2 separate regions of the Homo sapiens genome follow, and region 2 is linked to region 1. Evidence: promoter capture Hi-C in human tissues and cell types (Jung and others, 2019). All regions are on one chromosome and are shown on one strand. Each heading gives the region's core, a stretch centred on a gene start or on the middle of the fragment in contact. The rest is flanking DNA. Distances are from core to core; before and after follow the strand shown. Region 1 holds the start of MYOM1 (myomesin 1). Region 2 has its middle 33 kb from the start of LPIN2.

Region 1 (7,223 bases), core at 2,119-4,618:
CAAAAATAGGAGATATAAGTCCTCATAATGGTAGCTAATATTTAATGACTATTTGCTATATGCCAGGAAGTAATACTGTTTTACAATATCTTATTTGATTATCTTATGCATGATTATCATGAAAACATTTTATGAATTAAGAAATTGAGATTTACAGCCAGACATGGTGGCTCACACCTGTAATCCCAGCACTTTGGGAGGCCAAGGCAGGCAGATTGCTTGAACTCAGGAGTTCGAGACCATCCTGGCAACATGGTGAAACCCCATCTCTACAAAAGTACAAACATTAGCCAGGTGTTGTGGCATGTGCCTGTAGTCCCACCTACTCGGGAGGCTGAGGTGGGAGAATTGCTTGAGGCTGAGGAGGTCGAGGTTGCAGTGAGCCAAGATTGCACCACTGCATTCCAGCCTGAGCAACAGAGCGAGAGACCCTGTCTCAAAAAGAAAAAAAAAATTGAGATTTAGAGAGATTAATATCCTTAAAGTCACAACCAGAAGGTGACAGAGGATGGAACCCAGGACTGTTCCACACAGAGCATAGCCTCCTATATATGATACTATGCTGCCTCTCAACCATTTAACTGTGTGTGTATGCCTGTTTGTGTGTGTATGTGTGTATGTGCACACGTACACATTTATGTTGATAGAGAGCACCATGTGCCAATACTGTCCATTAGAAGGAAGAAATGTTACAGAAGAAGAGTTTCATTTATGTTTCTTATTAACAGACAATAATTTATTAGGTCAAAATGTACTGGCTACAAGTATCAATACATTTAAATATTTACTGAACTTTCATCCTTGTTAAAAATACAAAAATGAGAGAAGTGCACACACACTATAGAAAAACTAAAATATTATCATTGATTCATTGATACTCAAGATCCCTGTGAAAGCAAGAGTTTATTCCAAACAAATATACAGTAAGTTTAGACAAAAGAAGCATGAGCTAGACCCAGCAGAATCTCCTAAGTGATCTTTCTGCTGTGGCATCATCTAGATTCAGGTTTTTCTAACAGCAAATTTATCTGAATTACAACTAGCTACATAATAAATTACATATGGTGATGTACTGGATAATAAAACTAAAGAAGAAAAACTTGGGCTCATATGAATCAATTATTGTAACTTAGTTATGATTCCTTTATATATGTGGACTCTGGTCAATTACACTTACTCATGATACCCTTACAGATATGTGATTATCCTGAAAACTTAATGGAGTGGTTAGCCAGCTGTTAATTTCAAATTTCCCAGAAAATCATCTAATGTAAAACACTTTTTAAAAAGCATATAAGTTTATTTTTCCTCTTTTCTGCTTTGAGAAGATTTGGGGCAATTGACCAATGTTCTCTAGAGAAACAGCTCACCAGGAATCATCCTAATGGCTGGTGGATAAGACTTGAGAAGAATCACTGCATTCTGTATTGGATATTTAGAGAACAAATGGATGCTTGGGGAACATAACACTTGGAAAACTCGCCTATGGCTTCCAGATAGCTAAAATGTCCACATGCTTACTAATAGCAGAGGTATGTATATGAAGAAATTCCAGGTTGAATTTCACAGGTACCTGGATCAGAACTAGGTGGAACAGATTCTTTTACATACTTTGAGTAGCTCAGAAGCTAACCGTCTATTACAAGTGAAGACCCGTATTGCCATTTCAAAATGTCTAGTTTCTTACTATCAAAGTGCCACTGGAGGAGCCAGCAATACATGACTACAAGTACACGGGCTTTGGAATCAAATGTCTCTGAATGAAGTTGCGTTTCTGTCATCTACCCGCTGTGTGATCTTTGGCAAATGCCTTCCCTTCTGGAAGCTTTGCTTTCCTCAACGGGGTAATGAAGCTGTACCTTGCAAGGTATGATAAGTCAGTGGGATCATGTATATAAACTGCCTATCCCAGTGTCTGGCACTGGATAGGTCCTCAACAGTGTTAACTGTAGTTATCATCAAGAAAGTCATGATGAAGTATACTATAATATTGAGTCTGTTCAATATCTTGATAGAGACTGGGTGCAGTGGCTCACGCCTGTAATTCCAGCACTTTGTGAGACTGAGGCAGGTGGATTACTCGAGTCCAGGAGTTTGAGACCAGCCTGGGCAACATGGTGAAACTCCATTTCTACCAAGAGTTAAAAAAAAAAATTAGCCGAGTGTGATGGCATGCGCCTGTAGCTACTCGGGAGGCTGAGGTGGGAGGATTGCTTGAGCCTGGGAGGCAGAGGTTGCAGTGAGCCAAGACTGCACCACTGCACTCCAGCCTGGGCAACAGAGTGAGACCCTGTCTCAGAAAGAAAAACAATTTTGATAGACACAGGTGACCTTTATTCAGTTGATGTAATATCACTGTCAGAACATAAGGCCAGTAGATCAAAATACCAACCTGCTGCATACATGTAATCTAACAATGAGCTTTTATATTATTGGTATCAGTAATAACAGCTGATATTTACTGAGTCTATATTATGTGACTGTCACTAGGTCAAGTGCTCTGTCTGCAGTATCACATTTAATCACCACAGCAATCCTATAATTTGGATATGATTATCCCCATTTTATAGACAAAAAACCTGAAGCTTAGGAAGGAGAAATAAATTGCTGGAGATTACATGGCTACTAAGTGCTATCAATATAGTGGGATCTAGATCTGGTCTGAATCCACAACACAGGCTCTCACAACCGGGTTACACCTCCTCTTAATTGGTCACACCATTTAAAGAACAAAGAAAGAGAATCTCTTATTAGATGGACTGACCCTACTCTGAGTTAGGAAAGATAAAACACTGAGTTGCGTCTCAAAAGGCTTTAGTTAATGAACAGGAAATCACATATTCAGGCTTGAAGCTAAGACTTAACCTTGTAAATTTTCCTGAAGTGAGAGAAATAGTGACCGTGATGTCAGGCAAAAATCGCCACCACGTGTAACCCATTTCTTCCTTGTTTTGCCTTTAGTTAGCTTCAAGTTCTTTTTTCACATTGTATCTTTTAAATGTACCGTACGTGTGTTGTTAACAGCACACTCAGAATCATATCTTGGCATTAAAATTCCACGAAGTCCATTTTGAGAATCATATTACTACACCTATTTTTAGCTGTTAACACAAACCACTCTTTCCATTACACTTTTAAATTATCTACTGATAAAGTGACATTGAAAATAACTCTTGTTGCCAAATAAAAACCCTATATTTGGTTTAATCGGGCCAGACCCATTGACCGGCATTATGCAATTATATTACTAAGGCTGCTACCTGCCCATGCCCCTCTCCTCCTCCTGGTTTGGAACTACCCTCCCCATCTGCTGCTATATTTATCTGCCTTCTTGGCCATAAAAGGCTGGTTGTGTGGCCTGACATTCGACTGCCTGACCACATGCATTATTTTTGAACTGGCCCCCAGGGTCCTGTCTTTAGCCCTGCCTCTTAACATTGTCTTGGATTCAACCTAGGTGGAGTCTTCATTCTCTCATCCAGCTCCTCGGCCTCATCGGAACATTTCCACCACCATTACTCCTTTGGAAACTGGTAAGTGTGACACTGAGGCAGAAGAATGCACTTGATAGCTTATGAGCTTAGCAGCAGTGCAGTGTAAGTGCTTTCTTTCTGTCTTCTGAACTCAGCAGTTTTCTCAAAGAGATGTCAGAATAACAGAGAAATAGGAAAGTGAAGCTCCAGGGAGGGAAACCAGAACAGCCGGGTGCCAGTCGGGCTGGCACAGCTCTTCTCTCACATCACTGTATTCTTCTGAAATTAAGCTGCTGTTCCTGGAACTGTAAGGAGGTCATATCTGCCTCGGATTGAACTGTAAGCGTGTGTTTAATGCTATTTCCAAGTACGGTTTGGTTGAAATCTGAAATGGATGAGAGACAGGAGGCCCTGCATTTTCAATCCTGCATGTGCCATACAATGCTCCCTGGTTACAAATTAGACCGAAAGAAGGAAAATTAACTCTGAAGTCACTAGTTTATAATTCAGGGATCTTGCTGTGACGATGCAATGTGGATAAATGTGAGCGCGCACAATGATATGGCCTCAAATGGTTAAGTAATATTTCAGAGGCAACATAGAGCCCCACATAGTGATTTTTCTGGGAATCGTTTTCATCAGCTTCTGCCCTCTAATGCCTGCACAAAAGTATCATAAATTACAGCTATGGAATTTGTATTTCTTCCTAAATTCTCAAATTATTTTCAGAAAGAAAATTTAGGTCTTAAAGAAACAAAAGACACTAAAACCATCTTTCCTCCCAACGTACTCCAGCCGTCATGTGTTGGAGCTAATCCTGGCTTTAGTTAACTTCAAGGGCTTACTTGATGAAGAGGAGGTGGTTGTACCTTTGTTCCAGAGGTCAGGGCTGTGACAATCAGCAATGTGGGCTTCAAGTCAAACCCTGTTTACTTGTAACTTACTATCTATGTGAGAGGAATAGTAAGTATTATTAAAAATAAATGTATTTGGGAGAAATAGAAATAAAGAGAGTAAAAAATAGTATTGGGGCAAGATATTTAAAGATTTTATTTTGTGAAAATAACAGCATTTCAAGTCATCTGGGGAATGAATTTAGTTTATAACATAACAAGTTTCTTTATTATTTATTTGAAAAATCATTCAAATAACATGTGCCATGTTACAATGTAGTATCATAACAGAAACTTCTCTAATATCTTTATAACTGCCTAACGTAATTCTGTATTAACATTTTCTAACCCCTTTGTTTTATCAAAATTCATCTAGTAGTTATTAATTATACATGGTAATTATCCTCCATATTTTGTAACAGAAAATAGCCATCTATTTAAGGGTTGAAGCAAAGTTGCTTGCTAGTAGCTATTTTTTTCCCTTAGGAAATGCCCTGTAGACTGATATCTTCCATGAACCCTAAGATAAATATTTCTGGAGTGAAGTTTGCTCAGTTTTCTTCTCTGGGGAATACATGCTGACTTTTAAAATAGTTTAAATAAAAAGTAGTTTTAAACTTGACAAAGAATATGCTGAGTTTAGAAGGATTCATTCTTCATTTTGAATTTTTTTAAAAATGACATTTGGAGAAAACAGATCACTTTAAAACTAATTCTACAGCATTAAAACACTTGGGGGTGGAGCTTTTATAAAACTATTACTTCATCCAGGGTTGTCAACGTGGCTGATAGGCCTGCTTCAGTGGATAAACTATTCAAGAATGCTAAGGCCATGTGACATCTCCCCACCCTATGCTAAACAAACATACCTTTGACTTTTAGTAGAACTGCTAGCTCAAGTTCACAATGCCAGCTGTCACCCTGGGAATCGACTCTCTTACCTCTTTAAGTAGGGAGACTAGAAGCCTGCATGTTCCTTATAGAGCAAACAGGTTTTTTTGTTTGTTTTGTTTTGTTTTCTGGTTTGAGACTATACCTTTGCTTGAAATGTTTGTGAGATTTGAGAGAGCTTATATATAAGATTAGCATACTCCAGGGTTCAGTTCTAGGACTTTATTTTACTTATTTTATTTTATCTTAAATTTTTATAATAGAGACAAGGTCTCACCACGTTGCCCAGGCTGGTCTCAAACTCCTGGGCTCAGGAAATCCTCCTGCCTTGGCCTCTCAAAGTGCTGGAATTACAAGCATGAGCCACCATGCCTGTAATTTCCTTTTCTGTGTATAATGGTCCTCATCTGTTTTCTTTTAGGACTTTCTTTTCCGTGTACAATGGTTCTCACCTATTTTCTTGGCTTTCGATACCACCTATATGCTGTTGACTCCCAAATGTATATCTGCATCCTGGACCTCTCTCCTGCACTCCAGAGTCATGTATCCAGCTTCCCACTTAAAATGTCTCCTCTGGGAGGTCTAACAGGCATCTCAGATGTAGAGCATTGAAACCAATCTCCTGTTCTTCCACCCCAAACTGATACTTTCCCACATTCCTCCCCATCTCAGTTAATAGCAACTTGTCTTTCAATTGCTCAGGCAAAAACCTTGGAGTCATCTCTTTCTTTCACATCCTAATTCAGAACTTTCAGCAAATGCCATTGGTTCTAACTTCAAAAGCTGTGCAGAGCTTGACCACCTCTCACACTTTCGCTGCTACCCCTGTCACCTCTAGCCTGGACCATTGCAGTGGACTTTGTATTCTTTTGCCCGGGCTATCATAGCTAAGCGCCATGGACTGGGTGGCTTAAACAACAGAAACTTATTACCTTACAACTCTGGAGGCTGGAAGTCCAAGATCAAGGTGTCAGCTGGGTGGTTTCTTCTCAGGTCTCTTCTCGGCTCATGGATGGCTGTCTTCTCCCTGTGTCTCCACGTGGCCTTCCCTCTGTTATATACATATTTGGATCTTGGTTTTCTTTTCCTATAGAGACACCATCATATAGAATTACGGCCCATCCTAATGGCCTAATTTTAACTCAACTTCCTCTTTAAGGACCCTATCTCCAAATATGGTCACATGTTGAGGTACTGGAGGTTAGGGCTTCAACACAGGAATTTTGAGAGGATACAACTCAGCCCTTTCATAGGTCTTCTGGCTTTCACTCTCATCCCTCCACAGTCCATCTTCAGACATCGGCGAGAATGAGTCTCAGCTCAGAGTCTTCCAATGGCCTCTCAGCCCTTTCACAGTATTAGCTGAAGTCCTTACTGCTACCTACAGGACCCTACACTACTGGCCCTTCCACCAGGCACATAGCTCACCTCTTTGACATCATCTCCTATACCTCTCCCATCCCAGAACCCCTGCCAATCAGTGGTTCCTGGAGCACAATAGTCATGTTCATTCCTCAGTGCCTTTGCTCTGGTCTTCCTTCTGGAATACTCTTCCCCAGAAAGTCTCATGCTCAGATGTTACTGTCTAGAGAAGCCATCCCTGCTGAGGCTGTTGAAAATTGCATCCATCCCTCTTACCTGCTTTGTTTTTCTCTGGTTCTTGGCACATTAACCTATCTCATACTTGACTTACTTGTTTTCTCTATTGTCTTTCTCCTGCAGTAGACTGTACAGTTCTGTACAAGGTAATTAGAGCAGGCATTTTGTCTGTTTTGTTTACCACTGTATTTCTTTTTTGTTTTGTTTCATTGTGAGACAGAGTCTTTCTCTGTTGCCCAGTATGGAGTGCAGTGGCGCAACCTCGGCTCACTGCAAACTCCGCCTCTGAGTTCAAGTGATTCTCCTGCCTCAGCCACCGGAGTAGCTGGGACTACAGGTGCCCACCACCATGCCAGGCTAATTTTTG
Region 2 (7,223 bases), core at 2,066-4,565, 170 kb after region 1:
TCCTGGGCAACAGAGCTAAATCCTGTCTGTTAAAAATAAGTAAATAATACAAAATAAAGAGCAGAGAAGGTTTGGGCCTTCACAATTTGCTTTGTGCTGGCATTGTTTTTCTAAAGGTAGAGCAAAACTGCAAGTTTTATAAAAGGGACTAAAAAGCAGAAATATGTAACAAAAATCTTAAAATTATATATCCTTAGACACAGAAATTCTGCATTAAATAATTTTACCATAAGAAAATAGATAATGGACTAAGATGTTTGAATAAGAATGTTCACCACAATATTATTTACACATCAAATCACACTCAAAGCATTTCAACGCTAAAGAATGAGACCTCATCTCTATTTTTTAAAAAGTTAATCCTAAAAAATAGGAGATTTAAAAAAAAACAAAAAACCTGTGGTAATCCACAGAGGAAATGCTATGTAGCTGACAAAATGTTAATTGATATATTGCTTAACTGGTAAAGAAAGTTTATTTTCTTTTCTTCAACTTAAAATCACACAAATGGGCCAGGCACAGTGGCTCATGCCTGCAATCCCAGAACTTTGGGAGGCCAGAGAGGGAGGATCACTGAGGCCGAGAATTTGAGACCAGCCTGGCCAATATAGCAAAACCCTGTCTCTACTAAAAATACAAAAAATTAGCCAGGCATGGTGTTGCACACCTGTAATCTCGGCTACTCGGGAGGCTAAGGAAGGAGAATCACTTGAACCTAGGAGGTAGAGGTTGTGGTGAGCAGAGATTGCATCACTGCACTCCAGCCTGGGCAATAGAGCAAGACTCTGTCTCAAAACATTAAAAAAAAAAAACAAAACACATAAATAAATGTGGAGGAAGAAAGATGAAAGGGGCATAAATCAAATTGTTATGGCTGTAGGGTGAGATTATGTGGGATTTTTAGTTTATTTTGGGATTTTTTTGTGCTTTACTGTTTTTGTGGAAAAGCCAACTAAATGTAAGTGTATTTAATCATGAAGAAAAACATCCAATTTGATTTTATTCTCTAGCTGTACAAAATGTATTCATCAACCAGCCTCAAAATTCTGCCATAAGACTTAATTAACTCTAACAAATAAAGCTTTTCATGGGCAATACTTATTCTAATAGCATCCATCACAAAAAAAAACAGTTGATTCAAACTAAATTACTTGAAAATATAAAAGAAATTCTTGCCAGAAAATAATGATGCCCATGAACAGACAAGAAGGTACAGCATTCTTTTTCTAATATATATTTTTTTCTGATAACAAAATTATCCTACTTTGGAAAATGTAGTTAGTGCAGTAGCTTGAGCCTGGAGACCGGCAGTATTGTAAGGCAAAAACAGTTCTGGCATCTTCCTGGAGTCTGACTGGGAGCATCGCTGGAGGAAATGATGGGGAGTAATTGCAGAGACTGCCATCTGTCTCTGCATGCAGAGAAGTCGCAGACGGCCCTGGGATGTGCTGCCTTCTAGCCCACTTCCTATGCTTCTACTTTAGACTCCAAACAGAGCAAGAGGGACGGGAGGGAGAGGACGGAGGGCAATGAATCCAAAGATGGAAAAGCAGAGAAGATTTAAAAAGGAAAGACAGAGGGGCAGAAGAGAGAGACCCATGTCACTTGTTCTTTGGAATGAAAGAGGACGGGTGATACATTTATTATTCAATAAGACAATCATATATTCATTCATTCTCTCAACAAACACAAACCAGGCTCCCACAATAGCCCAGACCCTAGGTTATGACAGGAAAGAAAACCATCTTTCCATCCAGGTGAACACAATAGACCAGTCTTCTAGATGTACTTTTTTTAAAGACAGAGACTCAGTTTGTTGCCCAGGCTGCAGTGCAGTGGCACCACGATGGCTCATTGTAGCCTTCAACTCCGGAACTCAAGCAATGCTCCTACCTCAGCCTCCGAATAGCTGGGACTACAGGTAAGCATCACCCAGCTGCCTACTGTTTAAATGTTTTGGGTTGAGCACGGTGGCTCATGCCTGTAATCTCAACACTTTGGGAGGCCAAGGCAGGAGGATCACTGGAAGACAGGAGTTTGAGACCAGCCTGGGCAACAAAGCAAGACCCCGTCTATATAAAAATAAATTAATTGGGCTGAGCGCGGTGGCTCATGCCTATAATCTCAGCACTTTGGGAGGCCGAGATGGGCGGATCACCTCAGGTCGGGAGTTCAAGACCAGCCTGATCAACATGGAGAAACCCCGTCTCTACTAAAAATACAAAATTATCTGGGTGTGGTGGCGCATGCCTGTAATCCCAGCTACTCAGGAGGCTGAGGCAGGAGAATCGCTTGAACCAGGGAGGCGAAGGTTGCGGTGAGCTGAGATTGCGCCATTGCACTCCAGCCTGGGCAACAAGAGCAAAACTTCGTCTCAAAATAAATAAATAAATACTAAAAATAAATAAATTAATTAATTAAAATAATTTTTTTGTAGAGATGGGGTCTTTCCATGTTGCCAGGGTGGATCTTGAACTTCTGGGTTCAAGCGAGCTTCCCATCTCAACCTCCCAAAGTGCTGGGATTGCAGACGTGAGTAGAATATATTTTTTGTTATTCCTCTACACAAAACTTTGTGACCTTGGCTCACGAACATGCTTAATAAACTTGGCTCATGATTTTCCAGCCCCTGGAATCACTTTTTCCTCCATGTTGCCTAGCCAAATTCTGATTATTCTCTGCTGCTTATCTGTTCCACAGAGTCATCTTTAACTATTTCTTCTAAGCCATGTGGGTATTTCATTGAACTCCAATTTCATTAATAATGAGCACTAGACTTACATGTTAGAATAACATTATTCTTTATTTGTGGGCATTTTCTATTCAGTTTGTAAGGTAGGTCTTGTGGGTTCCTCACACTAATACAACAAGAATAACAAACATCTATTTAGCATCTCTATGAACTATAAACTAGGTAACATGTATAGGGTGAAATCATGAATGAAACATGGACCCCACACATGAGAAGCTCAATTGTCTCAATGGAGCAAAATAAGCATGTTACCCATACGTTTTGCTTGGCAGTATCTGGAGGCTGTGTGGGTATCACTTAATCACCTGAGAGAACACACAGTCTTAGTGGTAACCCAGCTTAAACACACCCTATGTCTAGAGAGGACAGAAATGAGTCTTAATTTTCACATCCAACCCCCCTGCCACTCACACAGATCACACAGAACTCTTTCCATTCAGATGCTTACTATAAGTTCCATCGACTTCTGGTCTCCCTCCCACTTTTCTTCCTTTATGTTTCCAGGGGCCTTTTCTGCCCCTCTGCCCTCCTCCTGCAGACACCAGGCATTGTCCCGGGCCCTCCTGCACCAGAGCAGCTGTGGGCCCCTGGTGGGCCTAGGCCTCACACATTCTTCAGACTGGACAGTCTATGAGACAAACAAACCTTCCTCCTGCTAATCTTGAGACCATCCCTGTAGTCTGTGATCAAGGTAGAAAGGGAGGGCCCAGGACCTGAAACATCCTGTACTGATGCAGATCCACAACAAAATACAGTCGTGTGCTGCATAATGACCTTTTGGTCAACAATGGACCACATATATGACAGCAGTCCCGTAAAATTATAATAGCGTATTTTTTACTGTATCTTTTTGTTGTTGTTGTTGTTAATTGAGACTGAGTCTCACTCTGTCACCCAGGCTGGAGTTTAGTGGTGCAATCTTGGCTCACTGCACCCTCTGCCTCCTGGGTTCAAGCAATTCTCCTGCCTCAGCCTCCCGAGTAGCTGGGATTACAGGCACGCACCACCACGCCCGGCTAATTTTTGTGTTTTTAGTAGAGACAGGGTTTCACCATGTTGGCCACGCTGGTCTTGAGCTCCTGACCTCAAAAGATCCGTCCGCCTAGGCTTTACAAAGTGCTGGGATTACAAGCATGAGCCACCATGCCCAGACTTACTGTACTTTTTCTATGCCTAGATATGTTTCAATACACACTTACCTCATTATATCTTCCAACTCCCTGTCACATAGGAGCTTCTCGGTAAGTATTTTATTATACACTAATGAGCTGAGTATAAGATGCAAAACACGAAGAAAGTGCCTACTGAGTAACCCAGACAGACGCAGGACAAAGACAGGGCATCTCTGGCCCAGGCAGTCAGGTCAGTTGAGGGAATGCTATGCACAGAAACTTCCTCTTGGCTTGTTGCCCGCAGTGGGGCTGTTAGCCTTTCTGCCCTTTATTTGCTTACTTTATTAGATTTTTTAAACTTGTTTTTGCATCTAGCACAGTGTCTTGCACAGGGTAAACACTCAATGCACACTCACAGAACTTAATGCAAACCGTGCCGTGATTGGTATTTGGGGGCGTTTTTGTTTGCTTGATTGTTGATGAATGGTGAGCGTAAAGCCTGCTGCATATAGGAATTGCTGCTTTTGCTGCTTTTGTTTCCTGCCACCCTCCCTTGATTTCACTATGCAATCTATCTTGTTCATTTTACAACTACCTGCGCAGCCTCAGTACAGTCCCCTGCAAGCCTCCATTCCTTCCACCCTCAGCTGGCCTTGAGATAAGCACCCCTAAGAGTATTCAGCATGGGGGCTGCCCAGCCTAATCTGGCATGGCATTTCCCACCGTGTCCTCACAGATGGATCCCCTGCCTACTCCGGGCACCCTCTCAGGGTGCTCAGTGCAGCTTTCCTACGTCTTGGCTACATTCCACCAGATACAGTTCTTGCTCAGACGATCTTGAGTAAATACTTCTCCCTGCTGAATCCAAATCTGGGCCATCTGTGGGTGGCCCATCTGCACAGTTTACCCTTTTCAGCAAGCAGAAACTAGACCAGACTTGTTGCTTATCCTCAAACCATTTAAATCTATAATTCTGGAATTCACTGACTATTTTCCCACAATGAAGTCTTTCTAAGAGGCTAGTTTGGGGGCATGAGAAAATCTAGGGGAAGTTACTAGAGCTATGGCAGCCGTGTAAGGGAAGGCAGGACAGAAGCCATTGCCTCTGCGATATAGATATACAGTCGTCCCTCCATATCCACAGGGAATTGTTTCCAAGACTGCCCCAAAGATACCAAAATCTACAGATGGTCAAGTCCCTTATATAAAAGGGCATAGTATTTTCAGATAACCTATGCACATCCTTCCGTATATATTATTTATTGATTGATTTAATTAATTTATTTTTGAGACAGAGTCTTACTCTGTTGTCCAGGCTGGAGTGCAGTGGCTCGATCTTGGCTCACTGCAACCTCCGCCTCCCAGTTTCAAGTGACTCTCCTGCCACAGCCTCCCAAGTAGCTGGGATTACAGGTGTGCAACACCACACCCAGCGAATTTTTGTATTTTTAGTAGAGATGGGGTTTCACCATGTTGGCCAAGCTGATCTCAAACTCCTGACCTCAGGTGATCCACCTGCCTCGGCCTCCCAAATTGCTGGGATTACAGGCGTGAGCCGTGCTTCTGTATATTTTAAATCCTCTCTAGATTACTTATAATTCCTTATGCAATGTAAATGCTGTGTAAATTGTTGTTATATTATATTGTTGAAGGAATAATGACAAGAAAAAAGCCTGTACCTTTTCGGTACGGATGCAACTATCCATATTTTTTTCTGCATATTTTCAATCCGAGGTTGGTTGAATCCTCCGATGTGGAACCCACAGATATGGAGGGTTGACTGTATTTAAAAACTCTCCAAGAAGGGTGAATAGTGCCATAACTTCTTTTTATTTCCTAAGAATGCCAGCTCTTGCCAATGACGAAAATAAGCATAGAAAATAATGTATAGAGTAGACATGAGGCAGGACCAAAAATCTGAACCCACAGCTCCCAACTGTTAACAGAAGGTCACCTATAGGATTTCTCACATCAGATTATATCTTTTCATTTTTTCTGAGACAGTGTCTTTCTCTGTTGCCCAGGCTAAAGTGCAATGGAGAAAACATGGCTCACTGCAGCCTTGACCTCCTGGGCTCAAATGATTCTCCCACCTCAGCCTCCCAAGTAGCTGGGACTACAGGAATGTAGGCCCACACCAGCTAATTTTTAAAATTTTTTTATAGAGACAGGGATCCCACTATGTTGCCCAGGCTGGTCTTGAACTCCTGGGCCCAAGTGATCCTCCCACATTGGCCTCCCAAAGGGCTAGGGTTTCAGGTATGAGCCACCGCACCCAGCCTCAGATTATATTTTGTTAAATATTTCAATGAAGGTGGAGCAGTATTGACGTTATTAAGCTGAACCTATTCAAAATGAACCTTGCTACGCACAATCAAAGGTTATCTTGTGCTAAAAGCATGACTAATTAAAGGCCACTTGGGGAAAAATAAATAGGTGCTTTGTGTGTAACTTTTGCTCCGCTGGTAACTCTGCTATCACCTTTCCCCAGTAGATCAGCAAGCAAGTTAAGCACAGTCCAGCGGCAGAATCCTGGGGTTAGGCAGATTGGCTTCACCTCCACCCCTTTCTCACTGTGGGAAAGTTAGACCCCCTCCCCACAAGTCCTCCTCTAAAGTGGGGATAAGGACACTACACTGTCTCCCACATGGAGATTTTGCCAGGATTAAAGGGGTTTATTCATTTTTAACAGTGCCTAGGAGAGCACGTGGCACATAGTAGGCCTTCAGGAAGGGGCTTTCCCCCTCCCTGTGCTTCCTGCCTCATTTTTCCAAGGGTAATTTTCCAAAGGGCAAAAAAACCATATTATCGAAATGAGAGGCCAGACGTAGTGGCTCACACGTGTAATCCCAGCACTTTGGGAGGCCGAGGCGGGCGGATCACAAGGTCAGGAGATCGAGACCATCCTGGCTAACACGGTGAAACCCCGTCTCTACTAAAAATACAAAAAAATTAGCCGGGCGTGGTGGTGGGCGCCTGTGGTCCCAGCTACTCGGGAGGCTGAGGCAGGAGAATGGTGTGAACCCGGGAGGCGGAGCTTGCAGTGAGCCGAGATCGCACCACTGCACTCCAGCCTGGGCGACAGAGCGAGACTCCATCTCAAAAAAAAAGAAATAAGAAAGGCCTCTGTTCCCCTCTGGAATACAGAAATCACTGCAGTATACAAAATCAGGAATTCCTATTTGTGGGATTTTCTTACTGGGGTTGCCTTACAAAATTTACTGAAACTATTTTGTGTATGAAATATGTTTCTAAGTACTTTCATGTGCGTCAAGTAATACGTCACCCCAGTGAGGCAGTTTGTGCTCAGGTTACTGACCTCATTTTATAGATAAGCAAACTAATGTTAAGGGAGGTGA

The links. Contacts are between HindIII fragments. The study calls those that stand out against the background at their distance.
Region 2: a fragment that was not itself captured here is called in contact with the fragment with the promoter of MYOM1 in region 1 in 2 of the 25 tissues and cell types used here (dorsolateral prefrontal cortex and mesendoderm cells).

The regions. Positions count from the first base shown.
Region 1 is chr18:3,216,113-3,223,335 of GRCh38, reverse strand. MYOM1 (myomesin 1) reads left to right here and starts at 3,368. Exons shown (of 38, transcript NM_003803.4): 1 at 3,368-3,533. RefSeq lists a silencer at 5,071-5,365. The HindIII fragment of the contact is 14,410 bases long and covers 2,206-7,223 here.
Region 2 is chr18:3,042,511-3,049,733 of GRCh38, reverse strand. No RefSeq gene overlaps it. Among named protein-coding and RNA genes, the nearest start is that of LPIN2, 33 kb to the right of the region's middle. The HindIII fragment of the contact is 7,534 bases long and covers 1-7,082 here.